Regions from separate parts of the Homo sapiens genome. Here region 2 is linked to region 1. The links are contacts of gene promoters, found by promoter capture Hi-C in blood cells and fetal thymus (Javierre and others, 2016). All regions are on one chromosome and are shown on one strand. The core of a region is centred on a gene start or on the middle of the fragment in contact, and the rest is flanking DNA. Distances in the headings are between cores, read along the strand shown. Region 1 holds the start of MMP15 (matrix metallopeptidase 15). Region 2 overlaps CSNK2A2 (casein kinase 2 alpha 2).

What was found. The method cuts DNA at HindIII sites, captures the fragments that hold promoters and counts their contacts. A CHiCAGO score of 5 or more calls a contact.
Region 2: a contact is called between a fragment that was not itself captured here and the fragment with the promoter of MMP15 in region 1, in 1 of 17 cell types (endothelial precursors). The highest score is 5.1, in endothelial precursors.

Annotation. Positions count from the first base shown.
Region 1 is chr16:58,022,291-58,028,508 of GRCh38, forward strand. MMP15 (matrix metallopeptidase 15) reads left to right here and starts at 3,464. Exons shown (of 10, transcript NM_002428.4): 1 at 3,464-4,222. The coding sequence starts at 4,061. RefSeq lists enhancers at 2,073-2,660, 2,661-3,246, 3,479-4,028, 4,579-5,128 and a silencer at 3,473-3,612. The HindIII fragment of the contact is 2,704 bases long and covers 2,669-5,372 here.
Region 2 is chr16:58,164,008-58,170,225 of GRCh38, forward strand. CSNK2A2 (casein kinase 2 alpha 2) reads right to left here. Exons shown (of 12, transcript NM_001896.4): 6 at 4,603-4,686; 7 at 3,678-3,788; 8 at 3,200-3,301; 9 at 2,577-2,677; 10 at 1,553-1,701; 11 at 47-140. The coding sequence ends at 64. Among named protein-coding and RNA genes, the nearest start is that of CSNK2A2, 31 kb to the right of the region's middle. The HindIII fragment of the contact is 2,265 bases long and covers 2,309-4,573 here.

The DNA of each region.
Region 1 (6,218 bases), core at 2,214-4,713:
CCGCATTGATCTGCTGACTCCGACTCATCATTAGTCTGGTTCTTCTGGAGAGGAGGAGGATGCCGGGCATACTTTCTGGCTTGCAAGCAACATGGCAACTCCGGCTGTGCAGCCTGCACTTAACTGACACCTGCCCTGTGCCAGGCCCTGAACTGGGCACTTGGTGAACCAGACTAGGTCTACCCTCTGGGTGCTCACAGCAGGGCTGAGCAGGCAGGGAGCACAGAGAAGAATCCCCATCCTCAACATGGTACTTCCCCAGACTTGGGTACTGGCTCCTATTGGGAGGGGGGCAGGTGTGAGGTAGGGCCTCCATCAACAAGCCCAGGAAGAGGGACTGGGCCATTCCCCTGGGGGAGGATGTGGCTGGGGAGTCTGTCTGTGCTGAGGATGGAATTTGAGTGCAGCAACTTTGAGAAATGGGCCAAGATCAATAACTGGCTCCTCAATGGAGAATGGAAGGTGGCAATGGAGGAAGGAAGCAGGAGTCTCGCTGAGGGGGAGGGGTGGGCAGGCTGGGCCTGAGGAGGAGGCTGGCGGCAGGAGCTTGGCGGGCACCCAGACACTGAGTGTGCCTCTGGAGCAGAGTAAGCCCGTTGAGCGAGCGCTCCCGCTGACAGTGCAGAAGCAGCCGGGGCTCTTCCATAACAGGAGATTCTCCATAAGAGGAGAAACATGGGAGACAATTCTGGAGACAGAGGGAAGACCAGAGAAGGCTGCGGTCCCCCCCAGGGAGGCTGGCCCAAAGAAATGCTCTTGATGAGGATTTTATCGCACCAGGGAGAGTACAAAATCAACACATCTGGCCTCGGTGTCCTCAGATGTTCCCCGCAGGGCAGGGAAATCATCTCACGCCTGTTTGGCTGATTTCCACCTGGCACTCTCCAGCGCCTCTCCAGACCACCCCAGCTTTGTTTCCAAGGGAGAGGGAAATTACCTTGGCTTGTTTGTTTATTCCTTGTCTTGGCACGAAGAGTCCCAAGGCCTGCTTCACCTTTGATGGTGGGTCGGGTGGGTGCATCGCCCGAGGGGCCCCTGGAGGGGAGAGCTGGGGGAGGGGGTGTCCTGGGCCTAGTTCCATCCCACAGCTACTTTCCTTCACTGAACAGGAGACCTCCCCTACGACCTCAGAACTCTCCTTTTGCAAATGAGGAAACAAACCCAAAGAGGGGAATAACTTGCTCGGATTGCCCAGTAAATTACAGCTGAGGCAAAAACCCAGGGACCTGGCTTCTGATCCAGAGCTTTTTACAATCCCTCACACCACATCGGGACCTCTAAATGAAACTGCTCTGAAACACCATGTCTGGGCTTTCATTCAAAAGACCAAGAAAAAAAAGGTGTGTGGTGGTGGGCGGGGGTGTCAGGGCATAGATGAAACGGTATTGGCAAAATATGGATAAGGTTTAAAGCTACTTGATGGAAGGGCTGCAGTTCACACATCTCAGTCCCACTGACTAGTCCTTTCGGGCTTTGGGTGCTGTCCAGACCCAGTAGAAACCCAGCTATCTTGGGTTGGATGTAGATGCAAATCCACCTTGGACTCCCAAAGTACCTATAGGAGCCAGAACCAATAATTGGGAGCTTCAAGATCTGGTCACAGGGGATGTCATTTCCTTAAGGCAGGATTGGACCCCAAGAGAGGAACCTCCAACAGAGAGAAAATCACCAGACTTGACCGACCCAGGCCTCAAAGAACGTTGCTCCACTCATTCCTGGGCTCCTCTCACTAACAGCTAGCCCCTTAAACCCCAACTTTTTTTTTCTTTTTTTCTGAGACAGTGTCTCGCTCTGACAGCCGGGTTGAAGGGCAGCGGCATGATCATAGCTCACTGCATCCTCAACCTCCTGGGTTCAAGTGATCCTCCCAACTCAGCCTCCCAAGTAGCTGGGCCTACAGACGTACACCACCACACCTGGCTAATTTTTGTATTCTTTGTACAGATGGGGTCTTGTCATGTTGCCCAGGCTGGTCTTGAACTCCTGGGCTAAAGCAATCCTCCCACTTCGGTCTCCCAAAGTGCTGGGATTACAGGCTTGAGCCACTTTACCTAGCCCCAAACTTTTTAAAATTGGCTAATCGGGACTAAATATCATGAAAGAGTGCGACGTGGTCGGTTAAACAAGGACAACCCCGTTGTCCGTGTCTGAAGACCACTGCACATTTCCCAAAAGCAAATTTCGAAGTGGAGAATTTAGAAACCAACTTCCCAGATGAAGGATCCCACAGAGAAGTGAGTCCGTGGAAATGATAGAATCGCCCGGTTCCTTTCTCTAAACTCCGACTTCCTTTCCCCAAGGACATCCCAGGAGGGTTCAAACGCGCCCTCTCTAAGGCACTCTGCCAGGTCTCCTGATTTCCAGTTTCCGGGAGGTGAGGCCGGCTAGGGTGCCCCGAGGGCCTGCTCTAGAGAAAACCGCCCTCAGGTGAGGACGGCTTCCATTTCCGGGTCTGAAGATAAGGAACAGCTTATCTTCGGTCTCCGCCCTCCTGCCTGCAACCCTCACCCACTGACCACGCCGGCCAGTCCGCCGCGCCAGGGCTGCCCTTGGCCTGGTCCCCGGGTCTCGGTGGACCTTCGACCCGGGCCTCCCAGCTCTGGCCTCCTGCATCCACCCCGCCCCGACCTCAAGCTGCTTCCGGAATAGAATGAAATCCAGCTCGTTAAGCTTCGCGGGGAGGTGTGTCCACCCGCCCCGCGCCGACTCCGGCCGCACTGTCGCACTTCACTCGCACCAGCCAGTGGCCAAAGTGCTTGGGCACCTATTGCGCCAGGCCAGGAGCCGGAAGTCTTACCTCGCCCTCACCCCAACTCTTTGCCCCACGTTCCCGATAAGAACATGGAGGCTCGGAGAGATTAATTTGCCCACGTGCAAGCGGCAGCTAAGGGGCGGACGCGGAACTTGAACCGTGTCCCTCCTAAACCTGCCCCTTGTCCGCCGCAACGCGCCCTCGACGCGCACAAAACCCTCACTTTGCTACTGAGGAAAGTTATTCAATGGCCAGAGACACCCTGCGGCTTTTGAAAAGAGGTTTCAGGCTGACAAATATCCATATATACATATATATTTATATTTAAGCCTAAAACGACTCTTTGATCCCTCCCCTAAGACCTCCTTCCCGTCCGCCTAGGCCTCGGTATCCCCCACCAGGTATGAGAAGGAGGAGTCTTCATTCTTCCCAGGCGGGGAGACCACGCCTTCCCTGCCTCCTCCCTCCGCGGGGGGTCGCGTTGGAGGTCACCCCCGCCCCCTAGGCGCTGGGTTGGGAGTGACGCGGGGTGGGCTGGAGAGGTTTCCTGCCGTCTGGGAAGCGTAAACGGACCGCCCACCTGTCGGGCCTCGGCCGCCCGCACCTGCTTGTGAGAAGCCTGCGGCTGGGGCACCGCCCCCGGTCCCCGCCCGGGTCCGCGCATTGGGAGCACACTGGCCCTTTAAGAGCGCGGCGGCCGCGGCGCGCGGGGAGGAGGGCTGGGAGCGCCCGGAGCCGCGCTGAACTCGCCGGGGACGTCGGGCGCCCGCTCCTTGGCTGGCTCGCTTGCTCTCTCGCTCGCTCTCTCGGGTCGGCTCCCTGCGCCTCCTCCCGGGACTGCTTGGGGACCCGGGCCCGGTCGGGCGCGGCGGCGAGCAGAATCCCCGTGCAGGAGGCGCGCGCTCCGGGCAGCGCCCGGCCCCGGGCATGGACAGAGGGAGCTGGGCGCGCAGGGAGCGCCGCGGGACCGGGCGGCCGGAGCGCTGAGCCAGACAAAGGCTCCGGAGTTGCGCTTGCTCTCGGGAGCCGGGCCCCAGGCGCTGGGCGCCGAGGCTGCGGAACCTCGCCGGGGGCAGCTCCGGTCGGCCCCCTTTCCCGCCGGCTGGTTCCGAGCTCCCGGACCTGCCCTGCCCGCTTCTCCTCGGGCTTGGGAATTTGCCGAGGCGACCTAGGCGGCTCCGGCGGGGACCGGGAGCCCGAGGTCCGCGGCGCGCCTGCCGGGCCAGGAGCCAGGGAGCGTCGCAAGTTTCCAAGGCGCGTGCGAGGATCCGGCGTGCAGTGTTCCGAGCTGGGCTGGGCGCCGAGAGCATGGGCAGCGACCCGAGCGCGCCCGGACGGCCGGGCTGGACGGGCAGCCTCCTCGGCGACCGGGAGGAGGCGGCGCGGCCGCGACTGCTGCCGCTGCTCCTGGTGCTTCTGGGCTGCCTGGGCCTTGGCGTAGCGGCCGAAGACGCGGAGGTCCATGCCGAGGTAAGACCCCCGCCCTGCCCTTTGGCTGCGGGCTGGGGGCTTGGAGGGAGAGGCGCCACGTCCGCAGGCTGGGACTTGGAGGTGGAGGGAGCGGAGACGCGCCCCCTGTTCTGGGCCGTGGCGGGGAAGCAAGCGGACTTGGCAGTCTGCCCCTCCCCAGCTCGCCCTCTGCAGCGCACCTCTTCGCAAACCCTTGAGGGCGCAGGGCCTCGCTCTCCTCCCCGCTACTCCTACAGCCCTGTTCTGGGCACTGAGCCCCCACCCCGACCCCCTTACATTCAGCCTGTGTCCCGGGAGCCGCTTCCGCCGCCCCCAGCCCTTGCCTCCCCTCCTTCCTTCCCTCCAGGGCAGCCGATTCCTCGAGAGCCCGGCTGGCGCGCAGTGGCGCTCTTTGCGAGTGGGGAGGGGGCTGCTCTCGGGGACAGCCACAGGCGGAGCAAGAGCTGGGCGGCTGGGCAACTGCGCTCCTGCCCAGGTGGCCTCCCGTCTGGGTGATACCGAGCCGCGCACGGCGGGCCAGGATGGAGGCGGGGGGATGGGTGCAAACGGCTGAGGCAGCGGACTCGGGTTGCGGGGGCGCTTTGGCGACTTTCTGCGCTTTTGCGAGGAAGCCTAGGCACGCCCGGGCGGGGTCCTAAGGACGGACCCTGCCTCCCACAGCGCTTCCTCCCAACAGCGCCCCTACGTCGAAGCCCTGGATTCGAGAGGGTGGACCCCGCGCCTCTCTTCGCTAGGAGCCCGCTTGGCGTCCCTCCCGGGGCCCCGCTCTGGATGGGTCCCGCGGGTGACCAGGCGCGACATCCCGGCGTAGAGCCGAGTCCAGCCAGCGCCCCAGCTCCATGGTGTCTCCCGAGCGAGGACACCGAAGGCGCCAGCTTTCTTGCCCCAGAGCAAGAGCAGGGTCCACTCTTCCCCGACTTCTAAGACCTGCGCCCTGCCCCAGATAGGCGGGGAGAGGACTTGGGCGGGGAGTAGGGAGAAAGAACCACCCCGGAGCCGCTTCTGAACGGTGCTCAGGCCTTGGTGCCCTTGGGCTGCCCGGGCTGCGGGCCTGAGCGCCGTTTCTATTTGCAGCTCAGCTGGTGCTCCCTCCCTGGCCCACGGCGGCTTTCCCACCTCTCCGGGCTGCCTGGGAGATTTTTCCGATGGAAGCTTGCCCTTCCCCGCCCTACTTTAATAAAAGCATAGAGGAAGGGCAGGGAATTCCTCCTGGGCTCGAGTTACACCTCCCAGCCATTTCCCCACCTGCTCTGCCCTCCCTCCCTGGCCTGGCCAGGGAGAGCTGAAGGAGGAGCCAGGCCCTGGTGGGAGGCAGGATAGGAGCCCCGCCCCGACCCAGTCTGGCCACCCTCCCCCACCCCATTCACACAGGCAGGAGGAGCTTTAGGGGGCTCCTGTTGGTGAGGATTACCCCTCAGCCTGTGACCCAAGTACTGGGCGGAGAGTGCCATTTGGGCCCACCTGCCACTCTGGGCTGGAGTGCCAAAGAATTTCAAGTCACAGTCCCACCATTGAGTTTCTAATCTACTTAGGGATGGCGTCAATACATAGGAAGCAGTGATGGAATTCAATGGCCGTGCATTGCTAATGGCATCCTAGCTGGCCAGGAGCTCAGGGGTGCAGGGACCTGTAGTTGGAGGGGCTTCACTCTCTCTCTCTTCTGCTTTTCCAGTTCCATCTCACCCCTACCCCAACTCCCCAGCTCAGGGAGTGCCCACAGCTCGATGCCGCCAGGGAAGAAGCCATGGTTGCGTTATCACAAACCGTGCTCCTGATCTGGAGGTTGTGACTGTCCTGGAGCCCTACTCCTGGGGAAACACTTGGGTTGGACCTGGGCAGTGACTGGAAGAGACCCCGGAAGGTTTAAGGAGCCTTGAATGTTGGCAGCCATGCAGATAGAGGGCTAGAGACAGGTGGAGTGTCCCAGCTCCTACAGTTGGCTTTGGGTACAGGCTGCTTCTAGGGTCCCATCAGGTCTGGCCACATGTGGGCCCAA
Region 2 (6,218 bases), core at 2,191-4,690, 140 kb after region 1:
GTGTTTGGTTGGTTGGTTTTATTGGCAAGCATCAATGCCGCATTACCCGTCGCTTTCCAGTCTTCATCGTGCTGCCGTGAGACCACTGGAAAGCACAGCATTGTCTGCACAAGGCTGGGACTGCTCCTTCACCACAGGGTCTGCAAGAAAGCAGGAGGAAAGTCAGGCAATCAGGGTGGTGAGTGCTGAGAGAAGCCCATGGCAAACCCACCCTTTCAACGGAAAGAGAGACAGACTGATGGGCAAGCCAGGGTCAGGGGGGCAACAGGAGAGACGGAAATCACGGAATTCCAGCCATATAAAAACCAAACACTGAAAAATGATCAGGGAAATTGTTATTGCAGTCAACTCTTACCCTTCCTCGGAGTACAGACTCAATGCTAAGAGGCATAGAAACTCTAATTTCCCACTGTTCAAATTTCTACATTTATTTTCTTTCAATATTAATATCATCTCTAACCCCTAATTTCTTCAAAGCATGTAGAATAACAAGCACTTCAAAGGAAAGGTGAGTAAAAAGAGCCATCAGAAGACCTATCCATTTTAAGCAACCGTAGTTTGAAATTTTTTAAATTGAAGTATGACATATATTCAGAAAAGCAGAAAGATCATTAATGACATGTCATAAACATCAGTATTCCTAATTTGATCTAACTCGGGTAAAAACAGCTTTCTGTGCCAGACACTGGGGCGGGGACATCTGAGTTTCCTGGGGCTGAGGTCTAGAAGGCTGAAGGCTTTTCCATTTGCGGTCTCCCTTATGCATATGGGCCACAGGCTCAAGACTACAGCGACACATTCTTCAGGCAAGAATTTAGTTCATCTCCAGAGGAAATCAAAGGAGAGGGAAAGACAGCATGTTTGTTAAGCCAGAGACAACGACTTTAAGGGGTGAACGTTTCCCTCTTGATTCAGAAAGCGACTGAGGTAAGTCTCTCAACCTCCCTGCTCCCCAGGAAGGAGACTGATAATAGGAGGAAGTTTATTTGAAACACACGTTATCAGAGGAAAGAACCATACACATGCAGAAGAATAAGCAAACACGCAAAGTGAATCCACACACACTTCTAAGTGAGCAGTTCAGTCAAGATTTCAGTGAGGCCTCTCCACACTTACTTCCCTTTCCTCAAATTCCTTTCGTCCATCCATCTGTTCATCTCCTTCTTTCAAAACATACAATAGTTATCTTACTACTTTTAACTAATTACTAGTTTTCTGAGGGGAGAAATAATCTTCAATTAGGTTTCCACACAAATATATGTATGTTTAAAAAGAAATTTTAGAAACTTGCGATCTATTAACTCAGGGTAACAGGGAGTAGTCAAACAGCTTGAACTCCGGGGAGATACATTCAGTGAATAAGCAAACACCTTTGGTGATCAAGAAACGGATCTGCAAAGTTGTCTCAATCATCTACGATAAATGAGGCCAAATTCTAGGAATAATCCAATCCAAATACCCTAGAATTCTCCTGACTGGTCTCAAAGACAAAGAGTGGAAGATTTGTTCTCTTGACTGAATTACTCCCTGAACACAGTCCCTGGAGACTCACAGAAGTATGGGTGCTCCATGGCCTCTTTGGCAGTCAGTCTCTGTTGATGGTCGTATCGCAGAAGTTTGTCCAGAAGATCTAGGGCCTCAGGGCTGACAAGGTGTCTGTTCTCACTATGGATAAAGTTTTCCCAGCGTTTCCGTGAATGTCTGAGAAGAAAAATGAAGCATTAGTAACCAGAGACTAAATTCAACAAGAATCCTTATCTACTAGGGCTAAAGCCAACAAAATCTCAGAATAATGTACTGATTACAAGCTTGTTAAATCTCTAACTGGTGCCTGCCCTACGGCCCCATAGTTACAGCATAGCATCCTGAAACACAATGGTGCTCTGTGATTAGAAAAATACAACTAGGTAAAACTTCTATATCTCATTTAGAATATGTGGAACCTTTCTAGATTATTTTTTATGCTGTAGACTTTTAGTCAATTCTGGGTGGCATGCAGAAGAGTGGGCAATTTTTATTGGTCAGCAGATATATTTCCCAGGGCTAGCCTCAGAAACAGGGAGGTTCCATAAAATACTGTTTGAAAACTGTTAACAAAATGTTTACTTCTCAACATTATTGCAATGTACCTGAAAACTCAATGTGCTTTAAAATTTGCTATTGTATAGAAAATCCATTACAGAGAACAAGAAGAAATTGTAAGTCCACCTTGAAGAGATATGAAGTAAATAAAATAAAATATAATAAAAAACAAACTAAGTCTCTTATTCAAAGAATCATTGCTCTCCAAGTTTGGCCATTAAAAATAAGCTTTTGCTGTACCAGAAAACTTTTTTCTATAACATTATGATTTTTGTTTTACCTTTTCTATTAATAGGTTATCTCTCAGAGAAGTAAAATGATTAAAAGACATAAAGTCCAAATATCTCAATAAGTTAAAAGAAAATATGCATAGGAAAAAAGAGGGCTACTTCCATTTTACTATAATCAGAATGGGAAAAGAAAGTGATTTTGGCTAACCTTTCCACTTCTGAAACGGGGTAAGGTAAAGCACTCTCTCTCTCTCTCTTACTTACTGTCCCAGGATATCGTTGAAGTGTGGATCTAGGTCTATGTGATACTTCTTCAGATACCCATACAGTTCTTCTGTACCCAGAACCTTGGCAATGCGAACAAGCTGAAACACAAAACAAACTGACCAAATCACTGAGCACAGAACACACCATGAGCCCGTGAGGACACTGCACCAAGGAATCAGAAGACTTCCACACCACTAAACCTCTAGGAACGAGATACAAACCCAGGTCCAGGGCAGGCAGACAGACCCAAGGACAAGAAGTTCACATGAATGCAAATTTCCAAACGGCCTTTAAAATAATACAACTTACGATAATAATCTTCTAGAGGTGGACCAGTACAGGGCATCACAATCTAATGACTAAAATCTAGTTTTATTAGACAAGGAGGTGCCTGACTTCTTCACAGATTCACTTTGGAAGTTTGGCATAGATGGCATTATCTGCCTCTACTTCTGCGGACCTGGTAAACACAAAATTCTGTGCGATCTTTATCTTGAAGAAAAGCTCATATGCAGACACTGAGTGATACTTAGTGGCTCAAGGATAGTATTCTTATCTAAGGATGCTATTTTTTTGGCATTCACCCCCAAATAAATAAGAACCAGAAAGCATTTGCTCACCTGGTCATAGTTGTCCTGTCCATGGAAGAATGGTTCCCTTCGAAAGATCATGCTTGCTAACATACAGCCCAAACTCCACATGTCCAAGCTATAATCATACATCTGAGGCAATAAGGACAACGCATTAGCCAAGGGTATTAGAAATCCATTTTTCTGATATAAATTTCTTTTTTAGACGAGATTGGGCGTGTTCAGGGTGGTATGGCCATAGATAATTTATTTAAAAAAAATTTTTTTTAACTTCCTGGCTCCTAGAAATGATCTGAATTTCTAGTCTTCATTTAACCTTTGCAGATATTTTAGATTTAAAAACTTCTCTGTCCCCCCAAAAAACTAGCTGAGAAAAAACTAAAATCAGCATTTTAGGGTGAAATAATGGCTGGGTTTTGAGTGTATTCAAACTGACTAGATCAACAGCAAACCAGAAAAGCCCTAAGCAAGTATAAATAACCCAGAATAGCTCTGCTAACAAGTTTACCTGATAGTCCACGAGGAGCTCTGGTCCCTTGAAGTACCTTGAGGCTACACGAACATTGTACTCCTGAGCAGGATGATAGAATTCTGCCAGACCCCAATCTATCAGTCGCAGCTACAAATAGGACAGAAAAAAACATGTGAAAGGAGTGTTTCTAGACGCCTATGCCTTAGAACAAGGCCACATCACATTAGGTAACAATCATTTGGCCACACAAAAAATGTGAGCAGGTGCACTGGCTTAAAAATTACATTTTCAGCAATCGTGCAAGAGGTCATTTTTAGAGCAGAACACTTGAAATGCTTTTTGAAAAAATTTTAAATTATCCTGGTTCATCCCTCTCTCTAGATCAACAGAGCTCAACCTTTTTTTCTGCCCACATTCAGAAACTGTAGGCAGTTACACTTGGTAACACATTCTCCCATCATTCATAGCTTTTCGTTATAAGCTCCAGGCGTCAGTGAAAGGGCTGGGGACACACATCCCACTCCAGGACTGAAGCATTGCTCTAATGATTTATTCGTCTAATACTAGATGATCCATTTACTCACTGATTAGGGCCAACAGAGTTGGATATCAAAAATAGGAGGGACCCAAGTGTTCTTTTAAGGCCAGGCAGATTGGTCTGCGGGTCATCAAGAAATGAAGCAGAAACCACCAGCTGTAATTTCTTTCTGAGGCCCTCCAGAAAACTATGACCAAAATAAACAAGTGACTATAGTTAGTTACTATAGTTAAACCGTCTACTTTCCTTGTGTACTACACTATACAAAGTAGAAATCAACAATGGAGATGGGAGAAATCACAGTAACGAAAGTTTGCCAAAAAACCCACCACGGGTCTACAGAAACCATCATGGCACTGGACAGCTTTTTGGTCTGCTCTAAGCCTTTTAATCAAGCTTGTTGCTGCCTGGCTGTAATGGTACCTTTTTCTGTTGGTGATCTATCATGACATTGTGAGGTTTCACATCCCTGTGCATGATTCCCTTGCTGTGGCAGTAATCCAGAGCCTATTAGGTAAGAAAGCACAGATAATAGTAAGCAACCCCTCTACCATCCCCCAACGCAAGCATAGTCTTATTGTTTGTGACACCTTGACTTGAATACAGTCCCCCAACGGGCAGCTTGCTGCCTGTAATGAAAGAGAAAAAAAGCGTGCTTCAGAAGGCACCCCTTGCTCTCTCTGCACACTACAGCTGGTAGAAAGGGGGTATGAAGGGAATGGCAAGGGCTATGAGGAAGATTTCTTTTTTTTTTTTTTGAGATGGAGTCTTGCTCTGTCGCCCAGGCTGGAGTGCAGTGGTGCAATCTCGGCTCACTGCAAGCTCTGCCTCCCGGGTTCACGCCCTTCTCCTGCCTCAGCCTCCCGAGTAGCTAGGACTACAAGTGCCTGCCACTACGCCCAGCTAATTTTCTGTATTTTTAGTAGAGACAGGGTTTCACCGTGTTAGCCAGGATGGTTTCAATCTCCTGACCTCGTGATCCGCCAGCCTCGGCCTCCCAAGGTACTGGGATTACAGGTGTGAGCCACTGTGCCCAGCCGAGGAAGATTTCTTTAAAAGAGGGGGTGATGAGGCCAGGCACAGTGACTCATGCCTGTAATCCTAGCACTTTGGGAGGCCGAGGCAGGTGGATCACTTGAGGTCAGGAGTTCGAGACTAGCCTGGGCAACACGGCTATACTAAAAATACAAAAGTTAGCTGGGCGTGGTGGTGCGTGCCTGTAATCCCAGCCACTCGACTGGGCTGAGGCTGGAGAACTGCTTGAACCTGGGAGGTGGAGGCTGCAGTGAGCTGAGATGGTGCCACTGCACTCCAGCCTGGGCAAGAAAGGCGGGCAGTGGGGAGGGGGGTGTGTGTGTGGGATGATAAACCAGACTTTGGAACCTCACTGGAGTCACCTCTCATAATGGTTCAAAGGACAGACCAGCATCTATGTGGACATGAAGAATGACATTCAAATACATCTTTCAGTATGGCTTATTTTGTACATAAGGGTCCCACGTGGGTTTTCTAGATGACCAAGTATTAGTATTTTCCTTAATATAATCCCTGAGCCAGCTAGCCTTTAAGACTTATCATTATAAGGCCAGGCATGGTGCTCATGCCTGTAATCCCAGAACTTTCGGAGGCAGGCAGATCACTTCAGGTCAGGAGTTCAAGACCAGCCTGGCCAACATGGCGAAACTCCACCTCTACTAAAAATACAAAAAATTAGCCAGGCAAGGTGGTGGGCACCTCTAGTCCCAGCTACTTGTGGGGCTAAGGCACGAGAATTGCCTGAACCTGAGAGGCGGAGGTTGCAGTGAGCCGAGATGGCACCATTGCACTTCAGCCTGGGCAACAAAGCGGGTCTCAAAAAAAAAACAATTATCATTACATATTATTCCAAGGGAGAAAATTGCTTTGTTTAAGATGATTGATATGCAGATAAGATTTTATGTATATAATGGTTTTTCACAAATTTAAAAAGCTGTGCAACCATTACCACAATCCAGTTTTAGAACATCTCCATCACTCCTAAAATTTTTCTTGAGCTTGTC